Regions from separate parts of the Homo sapiens genome. Here region 2 is linked to region 1. Evidence: promoter capture Hi-C in 16 types of primary human blood cells and fetal thymus (Javierre and others, 2016). All regions are on one chromosome and are shown on one strand. Each heading gives the region's core, a stretch centred on a gene start or on the middle of the fragment in contact. The rest is flanking DNA. Distances are from core to core; before and after follow the strand shown.

Region 1 (3,296 bases), core at 223-2,722:
GTGGAGCCAGCACTCATCACTGAGAAACCAGGAGCAGCCCTTAAGGTCTCCAAAAAGACAACGTCTCAGAGGAGGAAGAGGAAGCCACAGCGATAGGGTCACTTGCTGACATCCTTCCGGATGCGCTATCGCTGCGCAGAAGTAACTTCCACCACTATGTTTTCCTGAGATAAGTCGGGGAGTCTGAGAGGGAGAGAAGGGGGGAGACTGAGAGTCAGAGAGAGGAGAGACTAAGGACGCTAGGTGGGCAGGGCTCTTCACTTGCAGGTGCGCCTGTGTGCTGTGAGTTGCTGGGGGTTGTAGAATGCTTTTGGTGGACAGAGGGAACCAGGTTGCAATGTGAGAACATTTTTATGAATTTCTGGGAAACTGCCTTAAGATCTATTCCAAGAGAGACACCTGGTTCTTCTCACCTAACTTGTTGGGTTTCCTTTTCTCACTCTAAATATTCACTTTAAGGCCGGGCACTGTGGCTCATGTCTGTAATCCTAATGCTTTAGGAGGCTGAAGCAGGAGGATGGCTTGAGCCCAGGAATTCGAGACCAGCCTGGGCAACATAGCAAGATCCTGTTTTGACAAAAAATTTAAAAATTAGCTGGGCATGGTGGTGCATGCCTGTGGTGCCAGTTACTGGGGAGGCTGAGGCAGGAGGATCACTTGAGCTCAGGGGGTCCGAGGCAGCCTGGAAAACAGAGGAAGACCCTGTCTCAAAATAAATAAATATTTACTTTAATACCTAAGGGATGTCAAAAATTGTATAAGCCCCTACAACTCCAATTAGCCCCTCAGGAACACAAATGTTTCTCTTTTCCTTGCTCCACAGCCTTTTCTGGCTCTCCAGTGCTCTCAATGACCCAAACTGAACGGCTGTCTGCAGAGAACTGCATTTCCCATCGACCTTTTCGCTCGATATTTACATTTTAAAAAATGTTTTGTAGCGATGGAGATCTCGCTGTTGCCCAGGCTGGTCTCGAACTCCTGGGCTCAAGCGATCCTCAGCCTTCCAAAGTGCTGAGATTACAGGCGTTAAGCCACTGAGCCTGGCTAAATTAAAAAAAAAAAAAATTGTAGGGATGGGGCGGGGCGAGGGTCACTATGTTGCTCAGGCTAGTCTCGAATCCCTGGGCTGAAGCAATCCTCCCGCCTCGGCCTCCCAAAGTGCTGGAGTTAGGGGCGTGAGCCCCGGCAAGGGGCAGACACTCATTTTCTGTCGTGGCAGACACCGCCTCCTCCTGGGATTGGTCCCGGCCTCGCCCTCCTGCCACTCAGGCCTTGACTCGCTTTACTGCATGAGCCCAGTAGCCCAGTCTCCGCCTCTTACGTAAGGCACCGCCCAGTCGTCCAGGCCTCCGTGAAGGGGGGGGCTGGAGGGGTCGGGGGGGTGGGGGCGAGGCCTTCCCTCAATCCTGACGTCCATTGGCTGTCTCTTCGCCGGCGGGGCGTGGGTACGGGAGCCGGGCGGGCACGCTCCGAACCGCGGCTTAGGTGGCGGCGGCGAAGGATGCACCCGGCAGGCTTGGCGGCGGCGGCTGCGGGGACGCCCCGGCTGCGTAAGTGGCGTACGTGGCCGGCGGAGGAGATCGGGCGGGCGGGGGCGTGGCGGGGCGGCCGCGTCGGTTGGCGAGGTCACTGCAGGTCAGAGGTCACGAGATCAAGGATCTGGAACCCTGAGGTGTGCACAGCGCTGGGATGCCAGGTTCGGGTAGGAGGCCCCTTGGGGGGCGATTCTTTAGGAAATTCCTTTAGAAGAAAACAACTTGGGACTGGATAGCGTGCGATATGCAGAGAAATGCAACTTTCATTCATTTGCAGTTAGCGATCCGCCCTTCCCTGCTCCCCACCCTTCCGTGGCTCCCCAGTACCCGCCTGCTGTCGCCCACACCCTTAGGACAGCTTCGTGGCCCCCCGGGAGCGCAGAGGGCCATGCCTACCGCTCATTTAAGAAGCGAACCTGTATTGTGCTGTTGGCCCCCTTTTCCTGTCTCTTCATCTCCGTGAGTGTGCTGTGTGTTTCATTTATTCATTCAACCTAACTTGTCTCAACTCCCATGTGTCAGGCCCTGTGTTGGGATGGAGATGTTGTGGGAGCCCTGAGGAGGCACATGACCCAGCCTAGGGGTGTCAGTGAAGCTTCCTGGAAGAGGATACTTCTTTTTCTTTTTTTTTTTTTTTTGAGACCTAGTTTTGTTCTTGTTGCCAAGGCTGGAGTGCAATGGCGCGATCTCAGGTCACCGCAACCTCCGCCTCCCGGGTTCAAGCGATTCTCCTGCCTCAGCCTCCCAAGTAGCTGGGATTACAGGCGCAGGCCACCACGCCCGGGGTGGTATAGACGGGGTTTCTCCATGTTGGTCAAGCTGGTCTCAAACTCCCGACCTCAGGTGATCCGCCCGCCTAGGCCTCCCAAAGTGCTGGGATTACAGGCGTGAGCCACCGCACCCGGCATGGAAGAGGATAATTCTGATCATGAAAAGTTACCCAGGAGAAGGAGATTTGTAGTGAGAGGGCAGGCTGGGCGTGCTGGCCTACACCTATAATCTCAGCACTTTGGGAGGTCGAGGTGGGCGAATCACTTGGGGCCAGGAGTTGGAGACCAGCTTGGGTAACAGCAAAATCCTATCTCTAATAAAAGTACACAAAATTAGCCGGGTGTGGTGGCGAGCACCTGTAATCCCGGCTACTTGGGAGTCTGAGGCTTGAGAATCACTTGAACCCAGGAGGCAGAGGTTGCACTGAGGCGAGATTGCACCAGCCTGGGCGACAGAGCAAGACTTCGCCTCAAAAAAAAAAAAAAAAAAAAAAAAAGAGGGTGATCCACCTGCCTTGGCCTCCCAAAGTGCTGGGATCACAGGCATGAGTCACGGTGCCCAGCCAACCAGCCTGGCCAACATGATGAAACCCCATCTCTACTAAAAATGCAAAAAAATTAGGTTGGGCGCAGTGGTTCACACCTATAATCCCAGGATTTTGGGAGGCCGAGGTGGGAGGATCACGAGGTCAGGAGTTCGAGACCAGCCTGGCCAACATGGTGAGACCCCATCTCTACTAAAAATAGAAAATTTAGCTGGGCGTGGTGGTGTGCGCCTGTAGTCCCAGCTACTCAGGAGGCTGAAGCAGAAGAATTGCTTGAACCTGGGAGGTGGAGGGTGCAGTGGGCCGAGATTTCACCACTGCACTCCAGCCTGGGTGACAGAGTGAGACTCCATCTCAAAAAAAAAAAAAAAAAAAATTAGCCGGGCGTGGTGGCGCGCACCTGTAATTCCAGCTACTCGGGCGGCTGAGGCAGGAGAATCGCTTGA
Region 2 (3,296 bases), core at 282-2,781, 620 kb before region 1:
GGTCTCGGCACTCTGGGATCCTGCCACGGGGCTGTGTAACCAGCCATCTCTGTGCAACATGCCCAGCACTGCCTGTCAGCATCTCCTGTTCAGGTCAGGCTAGCACCTCTCTCATCAGAATTCCAGAATTCCATCAGAGGCCAAGTCCCCCACCCCCACCTCCTGCCCTTGCTTTGGGGGCAACTTCCTGCAAGGTAACACTTCCTTTTCTCCACACTCCTGTATACAGACTCCTGGAGCAGAGTGTGCCATGAGGAAAAGCTCTCCCATCCCCCCATCTCCCTCCACTTCTCTATTTCTCAGCTAGGCATGGCCAACAAACTAGCTCAATAAAACTGGTGCCAAATATGAGGGGATGGGCAATTTTTATCTGTAATCAGTGCACTTATCTGCCACCAGCTCTGATCCTAAAAGACCTTGTGGCCTCATGTTTACAATCAGGAGACCCTCAGGAGGCTGTGTGTTGAGCGTCAAGAGGAACTCGGAGACAGCTATGATGCTCCAAACAGCTCTCAAGCATGCACCCTTATCAGCGCCATTTGGTCCAGGCTCAGAGTGTAAACAACCTGCCCAAGGTCACCCAGCCAGTAAGTAGGGGAGGCAGGGCTTGGAGCAGTGCTGGGCTCCAGAGCCCAATGATATAAACACAGTTCCAACATTGTTTTTTCTTTTTTCTTTTTTTGAGACAGAGTCTCACTCTGTCACCCAGGCTGCAGTGCAGTGGTGCTGATCTCAGCTCACTGCAACCTCCACCTCCCAGGTTCAAGCAAGTCTCCTGCCTCAGCCTCCTGAGTAGCTGAGATTATAGGCACATGCCACCATGCCCGGGTAATTTTTGTATTTTTAGTAGAGACAGGGTTTCACCATGTTGGCCAGGCTGGTCTCAAACTCCTGACCTCAAGTGGTCGGCCCACCTCGGCCTCCCAAAGTGTTGAGATTACAGGCATGAGCCACTGCACCTGGCCCCACTTCTTAAATCTTACATGGCCAAAAACATGATCAGGTGCAGTCAGCATTATCATCAGTGCCATTTTCCAAGGGAGGAAACCGAGGCCCATAGGGGGAACCAACATAGCCAGGTCTCATAGCAATTATGACGGGGAGCAGAATTTGAGCTCAGGTGAACCCAGTAATAATTTTATATTATTATATAATATAATAGTGGCTCACACCTATAATCCAGCATTTTAGGAGGCCAAGGTGGAAGGATCTCTTGAGGCCAAGAGTTCGAGACCAGCCTGGACAACAAAGCCAGATTCCCACTCTAAAAAAATGGAAAAGTTAGCCAGGTGTGGTGGCACACACCTGTGGTCCTGACTACTCAGGAGGCTGAGGCGGGAGGATCTATTGAGCTCAGGAGGTCAAGGCTGAAGTAAGCTTTGATCATAGAACCGCACTCCAGCCTGGACAACACAGTGAGACTCTGTCTCTCTCTCTACACAAACACACACAAACACACACACACACACACACACACACACACACGTATAAAATAAAAGAACAGCTCCCGGGTGTGGAGCAGCACACCCCATTGAATCCTTTCCACACCCCTTCCACATCAACATTACAATTACTGCCATTTTCCAGCTGTCCATGCTTGAGGGCAGAGTTTATGTGCCCAGAACCCATGGCCTGCAGGAAGAAGACCTGGGCCTCTGTGCCACCTACCTGACTCCTAAGCTTAAAATACAGTAGCCCTCTGCCAGGCGTGGTGGCTCACGCCTGTAATCCCAGCACTTTGGGAGGCCAAGGTGGGCAGATCACCCGAGCTCAGGAGTTTGAGACCAGCCTGGCCAACATGGTGAAACGCTGTCTCTACTAAAAATACAAAAATTAGCCAGGCCTGGTGGTGTGTGCCTACAATCCCAGCTACTCGGGAGGCTGAGGCAGGAGAATCATATGAACCCGGGGGGCAGAGGTTGCAGTGAGCTGAGATCAGGCCACTGCACTCCAGCCTGGGCAACAGAGTGAGACTTTGTCTAAAAAAAAAAAAAAGAGCCCTCCGTGCGTGTTATGCACATAGAGCATCGAATTTAATCTTCACCAAACCAAACAAAGGAGATACCACCAATGGAGCTATTTTCTGGAGGAAACTGAAGCTCAGAGATGTCCACTGCCACAGCCACACAGAGGGCAAATACTCCACAAGGGGATTTACATCACAAGCGCCAGGGTCTGTTTATTAAAACCCCTTCCCAGCAGAGGGCAGTACAGTGTCTTGTCCCAGCAGAAAAGGTCCTTCAGGCCACCCCTCTAAACACAGGAGCCAAGGGTGTTGACAGAGGGGCACCCTTTGCACCCCCAGGACTCCTATGGCTTAATAGTGGTCCTGATGGAAGAGGCGGAGCCAGGACTTGAATCCATGAGTGGCTGCCTCTAGAGGCGCAAAGGCCAGCATCGGAGGACCCTGTGGCAGCCAGGAGCGGAAGGTTCATGTTCTGCAGGGGCGCCCAGCCCACTGTGCCCCCAGCCGTCACTTCTTCTGCACGTGGCCACAGTCGTACTTGCCACGCACAACGGTGAGCTTGACGCCTGGCAGGTCCTGGGTGCGGCCGCCCTCCACAAGGACAATCTGGTGCTCCTGCAGGGTGTGGCCCTCCCCAGGGATGAAGCAGACGGCCTCGCGGCCAGTGCTGAGCCGCACTCGACAGCACTTGCGATTGGCTGAGTTGGGCTTCTTCGGCTTGCGGGTAAACGTGCACAGGACCACACCCTTCAGCTGCGGCCGGCCTTCCGTGGGGCCCAGCTTCCGAGGCGGCCGCTTGGGGGGCCCCAGGCGGTGCATCTGGTTCAGGGTAGCCATGGAGCAGGTAGCCCAGAGCCGGGGAACCAGAGCTGGGCCTGGAGAGGGCCGAAAGGGGTTATTATCCCAGAGAACAGATCTTAGAGTAGTAGCAACTCAATTTTGGTGTTTTAGGCATTGTTTAAAGCACTTTACAAAGATGCATTTGTTCACATCTAATGTTATCTACAGACAAAAGTAACTCTTTATTCTTCAAGGAAGCATTACCTTTTTTTTTTTTTTCTTTTTTTTTTTTGAGACAAAGTCTCACTCTGTCGCCCAGGCTGGAGTGCAGTACCTCAATCTTGGCCCACTGCAACCTCTGCCTCCTGGGTTCAAGCAATTCTCCTGTCTCAGCCTCCTGAGCAGCTGGGACTACAGGCACCCACCACCACGCTCGGCTAATCTTCGTATTTTTAAGTAGAGACGGGGTTTCACCATGTTGGTCAGGCTGGTCTCGAACTCCTGACCTCGGCCTCTCAAAGTGCTGGGATTACAGGCGTGAGCCACCACG

The links. Contacts are between HindIII fragments. The CHiCAGO score rates a contact against its expected background, and 5 or more counts as called.
Region 2: a fragment that was not itself captured here is called in contact with the fragment with the promoter of YIF1B in region 1 in 1 of 17 cell types (neutrophils); the score reaches 5.6 in neutrophils.

Annotation. Positions count from the first base shown.
Region 1 is chr19:38,314,123-38,317,418 of GRCh38, reverse strand. YIF1B (Yip1 interacting factor homolog B, membrane trafficking protein) reads left to right here and starts at 1,472. Exons shown (of 8, transcript NM_001039672.3): 1 at 1,472-1,559. The coding sequence starts at 1,502. RefSeq lists a silencer at 1,148-1,637. The HindIII fragment of the contact is 4,086 bases long and covers 1-2,132 here.
Region 2 is chr19:38,931,878-38,935,173 of GRCh38, reverse strand. MRPS12 (mitochondrial ribosomal protein S12) reads right to left here. Exons shown (of 3, transcript NM_033362.4): 3 at 2,006-2,841. The coding sequence ends at 2,474. LOC124904713 (a long non-coding RNA gene) reads left to right here. Exons shown (of 2, transcript XR_007067253.1): 2 at 1-351. Among named protein-coding and RNA genes, the nearest start is that of MRPS12, 2.6 kb to the right of the region's middle. The HindIII fragment of the contact is 303 bases long and covers 1,380-1,682 here.